Linked DNA regions of Homo sapiens: all the other regions are linked to region 1. Evidence: promoter capture Hi-C in human tissues and cell types (Jung and others, 2019). All regions are on one chromosome and are shown on one strand. The core of a region is centred on a gene start or on the middle of the fragment in contact, and the rest is flanking DNA. Distances in the headings are between cores, read along the strand shown.

What was found. The method cuts DNA at HindIII sites, captures the fragments that hold promoters and counts their contacts. A contact is called where the count stands out against the background at its distance.
Region 2: a contact is called between a fragment that was not itself captured here and the fragment with the promoter of BHLHA9 in region 1, in 1 of the 25 tissues and cell types used here (spleen).
Region 3: a fragment that was not itself captured here is called in contact with the fragment with the promoter of BHLHA9 in region 1 in 2 of the 25 tissues and cell types used here (adrenal gland and mesendoderm cells).
Region 4: a fragment that was not itself captured here is called in contact with the fragment with the promoter of BHLHA9 in region 1 in 1 of the 25 tissues and cell types used here (stomach).

Annotation. Positions count from the first base shown.
Region 1 is chr17:1,269,157-1,271,856 of GRCh38, forward strand. It overlaps BHLHA9 (basic helix-loop-helix family member a9), which reads left to right and starts at 1,288. Exons shown (of 1, transcript NM_001164405.2): 1 at 1,288-2,659. The coding sequence starts at 1,408. The coding sequence ends at 2,115. RefSeq lists enhancers at 1-85, 1,690-2,440. The HindIII fragment of the contact is 29,201 bases long and covers 1-2,700 here.
Region 2 is chr17:1,478,012-1,480,711 of GRCh38, forward strand. MYO1C (myosin IC) reads right to left here. Exons shown (of 32, transcript NM_001080779.2): 6 at 2,695-2,700; 7 at 2,516-2,614; 8 at 1,581-1,694; 9 at 1,420-1,491; 10 at 605-724; 11 at 399-481; 12 at 76-181. Among named protein-coding and RNA genes, the nearest start is that of MYO1C, 13 kb to the right of the region's middle. The HindIII fragment of the contact is 9,477 bases long and covers 1-2,700 here.
Region 3 is chr17:1,140,354-1,143,053 of GRCh38, forward strand. The region is part of intron 1 of ABR (ABR activator of RhoGEF and GTPase); the gene reads right to left. Among named protein-coding and RNA genes, the nearest start is that of ABR, 38 kb to the right of the region's middle. The HindIII fragment of the contact is 6,228 bases long and covers 1-2,700 here.
Region 4 is chr17:1,439,110-1,441,809 of GRCh38, forward strand. All of the region lies in intron 1 of CRK (CRK proto-oncogene, adaptor protein), which reads right to left. Among named protein-coding and RNA genes, the nearest start is that of CRK, 16 kb to the right of the region's middle. The HindIII fragment of the contact is 5,312 bases long and covers 1-2,700 here.

The DNA of each region.
Region 1 (2,700 bases), core at 38-2,537:
GGAGAAATTCACAGTTTGAAATAATGGGGTTATTGGCAATGCTCTTTTGGCGAGATGGATGTGAACCACACACCCATTCCAATGCCATAGGCCTTGGCATCTTAGAGGCATTTGGATTGTGACTGGGAATGAGTGGCCTTCAGGCGCTCCAAATAACTCAGCTGTGGATGCCGGAAATTCTACTGGGGGTCTTTCTTTGGGAATAAACATCATCTTTTTTCTGAGACCCTCTTTCAAATGCAAATCCCTGGGGGAAGAGGACAGAGGCTGCTCATTGAGTTCATAACCTGGCAGGGCTGTGTCACAAGATGGGGCTGCCCGAGGGCTCTGGACCCCAAAGATGCCCCTGATGTGGACCCAGGGCTGCAAAGGGATCTTCCCCGTCACCCTCTGCTGCTGACTCATCCCAGCTCTGCCTGCAGAAGGGGAGTCAAAGGGCAGTGGAGGGAGAGTCAGGCCCAACCAAAACCCGAACCCCAATTGCAGCCAGCCGCCCTCCATAGCTGAAAAAGCCGGAAGCTCTGGGTCAGCTTTACCTGCAGGGCCCTGCGCCTCCCATATGAGTCCTGCCGGGACACTCATGCTTTTCCTCAGTGACATCTCTGTGGTTGCCCACGGGACTTGACAAGAACTTTCAAGGTTTTGTTGTTGTTTTTGTTGTTGTTTTTCTGAGACGGAGTCTCGTTCTGTCTCCCAGGCTAGAGTGCAGTGGTGCGATCTCGGCTCACTGCAACCTCCAGCTCCTGGGCTCAAGCCATTCTCCTGCCTCAGCCTCCCGAGTAACTGGGATTACAGGCGCCTGCCACCACGCCCGGCTAATTTTTGTGTTTTTAGTAGACGGGGTTTTATATACTCTGTTGGCCAGGCTGGTCTCGAACTCCTGAACTCAAGTGATCCGCCCGCCTCGGCCTCCCAAACTGCTGGGATGACAGGCGTGAGCCCCAGTGCCCGGCCCTCTGCCTCTTTTTATTCCTATCAGCTCTCCTGCTAGAAGCCAAACTTAGCACCTTATCTGGGAATGGGGAGGAAGAATGTGGAACCCAGACACCCCACAGCGGCCCCAGAGCTAGGCAGGGCAAGGTCCCCGGGGCAGCGTGGCCGGGCTGCCCGTCTGGTCCCCGCTTACAAGAACCTGCAAGCTTCCCTCCTTGCTTTCCTTCTTCCCCTCGGTTCCTCCCCCGCCGACCTACCTGGAGGCCGATAATAAAGCAGGAGGAGGGAGATGGATGGACGGGAGGGCGGGGCGCCGCGTGGTGCCATAAAGCCCAGCTGGAAGGGGCCTGTCTCGGGAGTGTCCAGCCCCAGGAGCCGGGGACCGTCCGCGTCGCGAGCCGGGCCAAGGCAGTGGGCAGAGGGCAGAGGGCAGAGGGCCGGGGCTGGGGCAGAGGGCGAGTGCCCGGGAAGGCCATGCTGCGGGGCGCGCCAGGACTAGGCCTCACGGCGCGGAAGGGGGCCGAGGACTCTGCGGAGGACTTGGGGGGCCCCTGCCCCGAGCCCGGGGGCGATTCGGGGGTGCTGGGGGCGAACGGCGCTTCCTGCAGCCGGGGCGAGGCGGAGGAGCCGGCGGGCAGGAGGCGCGCGCGGCCGGTGCGGTCCAAGGCGCGGCGCATGGCCGCCAACGTGCGGGAGCGCAAGCGCATCCTAGACTACAACGAGGCCTTCAACGCGCTGCGCCGGGCGCTGCGGCACGACCTGGGCGGCAAGAGGCTCTCCAAGATCGCCACGCTGCGCAGGGCCATCCACCGCATCGCCGCGCTCTCCCTGGTCCTGCGCGCCAGCCCCGCGCCCCGCGGGCCCTGCGGACACCTGGAGTGCCACGGCCCGGCCGCGCGCGGGGACACCGGGGACACAGGCGCCAGCCCCCCGCCGCCTGCAGGGCCCAGCCTCGCGCGCCCAGACGCCGCCCGCCCCTCGGTGCCGTCCGCGCCCCGCTGCGCCTCGTGCCCCCCGCACGCGCCCCTGGCACGGCCCAGTGCGGTGGCCGAGGGGCCGGGCCTAGCACAGGCCTCCGGGGGAAGCTGGCGCCGCTGTCCGGGGGCTTCCTCTGCCGGGCCGCCTCCCTGGCCGCGGGGCTACCTGCGATCCGCCCCCGGGATGGGCCATCCGCGCTCCTGACCGGCCTCGAGGCACCGGCTGGGCTGCAGGGAGGCCGGGCTGGCAGCTGGACTATAAAACCCGGGACTGCAAAGGCGTCTTGGACAGAGCAGAACTGGACCGGCTGAGACCTGGCGTGGAAGAGAAGGAGCTCGCCAGAGAGAAGGAGCTCCGGGACCCGGGGTTGCGCCCCCACATCCCAGCCTGGGGCAGAGAGAAGGAGCTCCGGGGCCTGGGGCTGCGCCCCCACATCCCAGCCTAGGGAGGCAGTTGCCAGAAAGGCTCAGGATCCTGAACTCATCTTGGACTCGAACTCGTCTTGGAATGCCGCCTTCGCACTCCTGCGCCTCCGAGCCCTGTGTGTTCTCGATGCTTTTAGGAGAGTGAGGGCTTTGAGGCAGGAGGTGTGGGAGCGTGGGAATGCGGGTGGGGCCTGCTGTGGTCTCGTGGGCACATGAGTGCGGAGTCCCCTTCCCTGCCTGCGCTGCTGCCCAAGCCTGATCCGGGAGAGGCAGGATCCGGGAGAGGCAGGCAGGGGCAGCAGCCAAATAAAAGGAAAAACTCATTTCTCTCCGATACCACGACTCCAGTGGGCCCCGTGGCCCA
Region 2 (2,700 bases), core at 110-2,609, 210 kb after region 1:
TGGCACCCTCTCCCAGGGGCCCCGATACCCAGGCTCCCCGTGGCCCACGGAGAGTGCCCCCAGGCTAGCACACACCGCGATGCCCTCTGCCTCGTACTCCTCCTGCTCCGACTTGAGCGTGAGCTCGATGAAGAGCTGCTGCAGCTTCTCGTTGCAGTAATTGATGCAGAACTGCTCAAAGCTGTAAGGAAGGAGAAGAGCCCACAGTGGCTCAGTGGGGACACAGGACCAGGAGAGGGGAAAAGCTGGACGACGCCCCTGAGCACAGGAGGTGAGAAACACAGAGACAGTCCCCGGCTGGCTGGGGAGTCACAGGGCAGGAATGAGAGGCTGGAGGACAGAAGAGAGGGAGCAGGACAGGAGACCGGGAGGAGAGACGGGGGAAAGATGGCACCGACCTGTTATGCTGAAACACTTCAAAGCCATAAATATCCAGGAGCCCGAGAACCGTGGTGCTCCGCCAGCTGGGGCTCTCCACGTCCTAGGGCAGTCATTCAACCGAAGGCGTGGGCCCCCTGCGCGTGCCAGCCCCACCCTGCAGCACCCCCCGCCTCGCCGACGGCCCTCCCTTCTGCCTTGGGAGCAGTGTGGACCGAGCCCTCACCTTGGAGGCCAGCGACCTGTTGATCTTCCCGACGAGCCAGGTAAAAGTGCGGCTGTACACAGCCTTGGCGAGGGCGTCTCGTGCGTACGCGGCCTGCTCCAGGTTCAGCGGGCTCAGGAGCTGTGGACGCAGCGTGAGACAAGGAGATGAATGCCACAGAGCCTGTGCATCCCACCTGCTCCCAGGCTCAGGCAGACCAGGAAGCCGCCACCACTCTGCACTCCCAGCTCCAGCAAGCCTGCAGTATGGGGAGGGGTGCTGGTAGTGGGACCTCAGGGAGGACAGGTGGCCACCCCAGAGGGAAGGTGGTAGAGGGACAGGAGGCCTCCTTCCCGAGGTGGGAGTCTGGTTCTAGCCGGACTGTTACTCTCTTCCTATGTGACCCTGGCCAGCTCACTGTGCTGCTTCTTTTTTTTGAGACAGAGTCTAGCTCTGTTGCCGTGATCTCGGCTCACTGCAACCTCCACCTCCCGGGTTCAAGCGATTCTCCTGCCTCAGCCTCCCGAGTAGCTGGGATTACAGGCGCCCGCCACCATGCCCGGCTAATTTTTGTATTCTTAGTAGATGGGGTTTCACCATGTTGGCCAAGATGGTCTCGAACTCCTGACCTCAGGTGACCTGCCCACCTCAGCCTCCCCAAGTGCTGGGGTTACAGGCGTGAGCCACGGCGCTCGGCTCTCACTCTGCTTCTCTGAGCAGCCTTCCTTCCATCCCTCCAGCATTGCTGAGGGAACCAGGCGAAGGGGAGTGATGGGAGTAGGGGCTGCCTTGGAACAGCTGCCCCTCCACACCCGAGGGCAAGGGCCCGGCCTCACCTCCTCCCCCTTGGCGATGATCTTCCTGTGTGTCAGGGCTTCTCGCAGCGTCGAGCCTTCCACGCTGAGGAGCTGCCAAGGGCAGGCGAGGACACGGTGAGGGTGCACCCCCAGCCCCCGCCCCCGCCGTCCTCCCGTCGCCCTCTGCCCGCCCCACTCACCCTGGTCAGATACTTGAGCTGGTTCTCGGTGGTGACCTGGGCATTGCTCTCCTCGTTGGCAGCAAAGTGGATGTTGCCCAAATGAAGGACGCTGGCCACGATGCTCAGCAGGTCCTGGGGGAGCAGGCCGGGGGCAGGAGGGGGTGAGAGGGGCCAGAGAGCCCCAAGAGGGCAACTAGCAGATGGCCATGCAGGGGTGGGTGGTGAAGTGTCGGAGAGAAGGGGCTGGAAGTGGGAATGGGTGTTAAAGGTGGAAGGTGATTCTGCGGGTGGGATGGGCACGGTGGCTGACGCCTGTAATCCCAGCACTTTGGGAGGCTGAGGCGGGAGGATCATCTGAGGTCAGGAGTTCGAGACCAGCCCAGCCAACATGGCAAAACCCCATCATTATTAAAAATACAAAAATTAGCCAGGTGTGGTGGCAGGTGTCTGTAATCCCAACTACTCAGGAGGCTGAGGCATGAGAATCACTTTAACCTGGAGGCAGAGGTTGCAGTGAACTGAGATCGCACCACTGCACTCCAGCCTGGGCGAAAGAGCGAGACTCCATCTCAAAAAAAAAAAAAAAAAAAAAAAAGGGATTACTGGCCCACGCCTGTAATCCCAGCACTTTGAGAGGCTGAGGCAGGCGGATCACCTGAGGTCGGGAGTTCGAGACCAGGCTGGCCAACATGGTGAAACTCCGTCTCTACTAAAACTACAAAAAATTAGCTGGGCGTGGTGGCGGGCGCCTGTAATCCCAGCTACTCGGGAGGCTGAGGCAGGAGAATTGCTTGAACCCAGGAGGCGGAGGTTGCAGTGAGCTGAGATTGCACCACTGCACTCCAGCCTGGGCAACAAGAATGAAACTCCGTCTCAAAAAATAAAAAACAAAAAAAAAAGGAGATTTTGGGGGTGTGACAGGAGGAAAGCGAGGGTCCCGGAAGAGGCCTCACCTCCACTTCATCCTCGGTGAAATCAATGACTGTCAGAGCCTTCCTGACGACCTTCCAGTCACTCTTGTCGTTGATGGAGGAGACTTTGGCACACTGGCCCTGGAGGAAGGGCACAGCTGGGTTGCCAGCCCTGGCACCAGATCCCTGGGTGGCACCTGCCCTCCCTGCCAGCCACTCACCTTCAC
Region 3 (2,700 bases), core at 195-2,694, 130 kb before region 1:
TCCAACGGGCAGCCAGACAGCAGAGTCTGGACCACAGGTGTGGATCTGGGAGGCCGGCAACCCTGAACCAGGGAACTGGCCAGCGGAAGCGAGGCTGCCACTTCCCAGGTGCCACCTGTACCAGATCAGCCTGTCCGGGGCAATTTCAGCAGGGATGGTGGCTCAGATACAAAATCTACCACCTCACCTACAACAATAAGGACACTGTCTTCTACTGCACTTTATTTTATTGATTTATTTATTTTTGGAGACGAAGTCTCAATCTGTCACCCAGGCTGGAGTGCAGTGGTGGGATCTCAGCTCACTGCAACCTCCGCCTCCCAGGTTCAAGCAATTCTCCTGTCTCAGCCTCCCAAGTAGCTGGGATCACAGGCACCCGCCACCATGCCCGGCTAATTTTTGTATTTTTAGTAGAGATGGGGTTTCACCATGTTGGCCAGGCTGGTCTCGAACTCCTGACCTCAAGTGATCCGCCCACCTCGGCTTCCCAAAGTGCTGAGATGACAAGTGTGAGCCACCGCGCCCGGCCAGTCTTCTATTGCACTGGGAGGCAGAGGTTGCAGTGAGCTGAGATCGCACCACAGCACTCCAGCCTGGGTGACAGAGTGAGACTGTCTCAAAGAAACAAGATGAGGATAACGATACCATGTCACAGGGTGGTTGTGAAAATGACATTAAATAACATGATGTAGGTTAAAGAACTGGGCACAGTATCAGGGCAGAAGGGTCCTTGGGAAAGCTCAGCTGAAGCCGAGTGGGTGTCGTAGGCAACGGGAAAGTAGACACCTTCAGGGTCCAGGTGACCCCAGCTGATCCAGGAGATATTTAATACCATCGGGAGCCCCTCAGTCAGGGCCTGGCTCCAAGGGGAGGAATCCTGGAAACCAGCATCTTTCCCACGGGACAAGCCACCTCCTTCTCAGGGCCCCCCATTCTTTGATTGATGGAGCAGAGGTTGGGGAGCCAGGACAGCTCAGTGGTCAAGGGCAGAGGCTTTGGAATCACACTCGGGTTCCATTCCTGAGATTAGCACTTCGGGAATGTGACCTTAGCCATGTGACCTTGGGCAAGCTACTTAGCCATTCAGAGCCTCAGTTTTCTCATCTCTAAAATGAGGATAAAAACAAGATCTATACCTCATGAAGCTTTTGCGAGGTTACAATGAGGAAATATATGCTATGCAAGGCACCCAAAGCTGGCGCTAACAAAACGGCAGCTATTATCATTATTCCCCTGCTCTCCTTCCTGAGTACCAAGAACCCTTAGGGACCTCCCAGCCCTTAAAAAACAAACCAGGGCTTTGGCAATTTGCAGTGAGTTAAGACTACAGCAAGCTTTGTCAGCTAACTCTGCTGTTCATCAGTCAGCCTCCATTCAGCACAGGCTGGTGGACTAGTTACGACTTAAATTCTTTTTTTTTTTGGAGACAGAGTCTTGCTCTGTCTCCCACGCTAGAGTACAATGGCACAATCTTGGCTCACTGCAACCTCCACCTCCCCGGTTCAAGCAATTCTCCTGCCTCAGTCTCCTGAGTAGCTGGGATTACAGGTGCCCGCCACCACGCCCGGATAATTTTGTATTTTTAGTAGAGGTAGGGTTTCACCATGTTAGCCAGGATGGTCTCAAACTCCTGACCTCAGGTGATCCACCTGCCTCGGCCTCCCAAAGTGCTGGGATTACAGGTGTGAGCCACTGCGCCCGGCCAGTTCATGACTTGAATCCTAAGATAACTGTTCCAATCTTCACTGCACACTGGAATCCCTGGGGAGTTGGGAAGCTCTCTGGCTCCTACCCCAGGGATTGCTACTGAATTGGTATGGAATGGCCTGGGCATCAGGCCTGTTAAAAGCTCCCCAGGTGACTCTAATGTATAGGAAGGCCAAGAGCCGCCAGGTTCAGACAGGGACACTGAAGTGAGCGTCTTTACAACCAAATGGAACTAAGACTCTTGCTGGGCACAGTGGCTCACGCCTGTCATCCCAGCACTTTGGGAGGCCGAGGCAGGCGGATCACCTGAAGTCGAGAGTTCGAGACCAGCCTGGCCAACATAGAGAAACCCCGTCTCTACTAAAAATATAAAAATTAGCCGGGTATGGTGACAGATGTCTGTAATCCCAGCTACTCGGGGGGCTGAGGCAGGAGAATCGCTTGAACCCGGGAGGCGGATGTTGCAGTGAGCTGAGATCACACCATTGCACTCCAGCCTGGGCGATAAGAGCGAAACTCCATCTCAAAAAAAAAAAAAAAATACTCTGAAGCAGCCTATGAAGCCATCAGCCAGGCGCGTGATCAATTCAGCCAGCACAGGGAAGGCTGCCCGGAAGAGGCAGGGCTTGTCCTCAGTCTTGGGGACTGTGGGATTCGCTGGGGAAGAGAAGACAAGACGGACGGAAAGGGCTTTGCTCTGATTGTGAACCACAGACAGGCAGGGGTGGGTGGGGGTCGGCCCCTGTCTCATTCACTCAGGACCCTCGGCCTGGCCTGTAGCAGCCACTGGGAGCACAGACAGCGCCACCCTCACCCCGAGGCCTGGAGCCCCTCATTAGCCCAGCAAAGCGGCAACTGGAGGCCGGGCAGAGGCTGTGGGGCAGCTCACTCCTGGGAGGAAGCTCACTCCTGGGGGACAGCTCGCTCCTGGGGGACAGCTCATTCCTGGGGACAGCTCGCTCCTGGGGGACAGCTCATTCCTGGGGGGCAGCT
Region 4 (2,700 bases), core at 102-2,601, 170 kb after region 1:
CACCACGACGGAGTCTCGCTCTGTCCCCCAGGCTGGCGTGCAGTGGCACAATCTCGACTCAGTGCAAGCTTCGCCTCCCGGGTTCACGTCATTCTCCTGCCTCAGCCTCCCGAGTAGCTGGGACTACAGGCACCCGCCACCATGCCTGGCTAATTTTTTTTGTATTTTTAATAGAGACGGGGTTTTACCGTGTTAGCCAGGATGGTCTCGATCTCCTGACCTAGTGATCCACCCGCCTCGGCCTCCCAAAGTGCTGGGATTGATTACAGGTGTGGGCCACTGCACCCGGCCACAAAGTTTCTAATTAGGAATGCAAACCTTTAACTCCCACTCGGCTAAGCACCCAAAACAGCAAACTATTTTCATTGGATTTTTCACATTATGGTTTCCTGAAGAAGTAATAAACAACTCTCTAATAATAACAACTAGTAAACATTCTCCATAGAGAATGAGTTTTAGCTGGGCACGGTTGCTCACATCTCTAACCCCAGCACTTAGGGAAGCTGAGGCAGGTGGATCCCTGGAGCTCAGGAGTTCAAGACCAACCCGGGCAACATGGCTGTCACTGCAAAAAACTTAAAAAATTAGCTGGGCATGGTGGCACACTTTTGTAGTCCCAGCTACTCAGGACACTCAGGTAGGGGGATGGCTTGAGCCTGGAAGGTCAAGGCTACAGTGAGCCATGATCACGCCACTGCACTCCAGCCTGGGCAACAGAGCAAGACTCTGTGTCAAACAAACAAAAAAAAGAAAATGAATTTTGTTGGGCGTGGTGCCTCACACCTGTAATCCTAGAACTTTAGGAGGCTGAGGTGGGAGGATCACTTAAGTGCAGGATTTTGAGACCAGCGTAGGCAACACAGCCAAGACCTCATCACTACAAAAATTATTTAAAAATTAGCCAGGTTGGACAGGCGCGGTGGCTCACGCCTGTAATCCCAGCACTTTGGGAGGCTGAGGCAGGTGGATCACAAGGTCAGGAGATCAAGACCATCCTGGCTAACACGGTGAAACCCCGTCTCTACTAAAAATACAAAAAATTAGCTGGGCGTGGTGGTGGGCACCTGTAGTCCCAGCTGCTAGGGAGGCTGAGGCAGGAGAATGGCATGAACCCAGGAGGCAGAGCTTGCGGTGAGCCGAGATCGCGCCACTGCACTCCAGCCTGGGCGACAGAGCGGGACTCTGTCTCAAAAAAAAAAAAAAAATTAGCCAGGCATAGTGGTGCATGCCTGCAGTTGCAGCTACTTGGGAGGCTGAGGTGAGAGATCGCTTGAGCCTAGGAGTTTGTGAGTACACTGAGCCATGATCGTGTCAACGCACTCCAGCCTGGGGGACCGAGCAAGACCTTGACTCTTAAAAAAAGAAAAAATAAATGTTTGAAAAAAAATGACTGGGCACAGTGGTTTACGTCTGTAATCCCAGCACTTTGGGAGGCCAAGGCAGGAGGACTGATTGAGGCCAGTAGTTCAAGACCAGCCTGGGCAATAAAGTGAGACCCAATCTCCTAAAAAAACAAAAAACAAGCCGGGCACGTGGCTCACACCTGTAATCCCAGCACTTTGGGAGGCCGAGGCGGGTGGATCATGAGGACAGGAGAGCGAGACTTCGTCTCAAAAACAAACAAACAAACAAACAAAAAAACCATTAGCCAGGCAAGGTGGTGCATGTCTGTTAGTCCCAGCTTCTCGAGAAGCTGAGGTGGGAGAATCGCCTGAGCCCAGGGAGTCAAGGCTACCGTGAGTCGTGATCATGCCACTGCATTCCAGCCTGGGCAAAAGAGAGAGACCTTGTCTCAAAAAACCTAAAATCCAAATGAGTTTTGTGAGTTTTTGGCTTTGTTGTTGTCTTGTGACAGAGTGGTCTGGCTCTGTCACCCAGGCGGGAGTGCAGACCTCAGCTGAGTGCAACCTCTACCTCCCAGGCTGAAGCCATCCTCTTACCTCAGCCTCCTGAGTAGCTGGGCCTACAGGCACGCATCACCACGCCCAACTAATTTTTTGTAGTAATGGGATTTCGCCATGTTGCCCAAGCCAGTCTCGAATTCCTGAGCTCAAGTTATCCATCTGCCTTGGCCTCCCAAAGTGCTAGTATTACAGGCGTGAGCCACCACGCCTGGCCTTGGCTTTGTTTTTTGAGACAGGAGACTCCCTATGTGGCCCAGGCTCATCTTAAACTCCTGGGTCCAGCGATCCTCTCACCTTAGTCTCCTGAGTACATGATTTTGTTATTTCTTTTTAGAGACAGGGTCTAACTCTGTTGTCCAAGCTGGAGTGCAGTAGTGTGATCACAGCTCACCGCAGTCTCAAACTCCTGGGCTCAAGATATTCTCCCACCTCAGCCTTCTGAGTAGCTGGGACTAAAGGTGCGGGTGGCATTGCACCCAGCTGATTTTTTTTTTTGAGATGGAGTCACATTCTTGTCACCCAGGCTGGAGTGCACTGGAGCCATCTTGGCTCACGGCAACCTCCACCTCCCGGGTTCAAGCAACTCTCCTGCCTCAGCCTCCCGAGTAGCTGGGACTACAGGCCCGCGCCACCACACCCGGCTAATTTTTGTATTTTTAGTAGAGACAAGGTTTCACCATCTTGGCCAGGCTGGTCTACAACTCCTGACCTCGTGATCCATCCACCTCGGCCTCCCAAAGTGCTGGGATTACAGGCGTGAGCCACTGTGCCCGGCCCTTCACCCAGCTGATTTTGA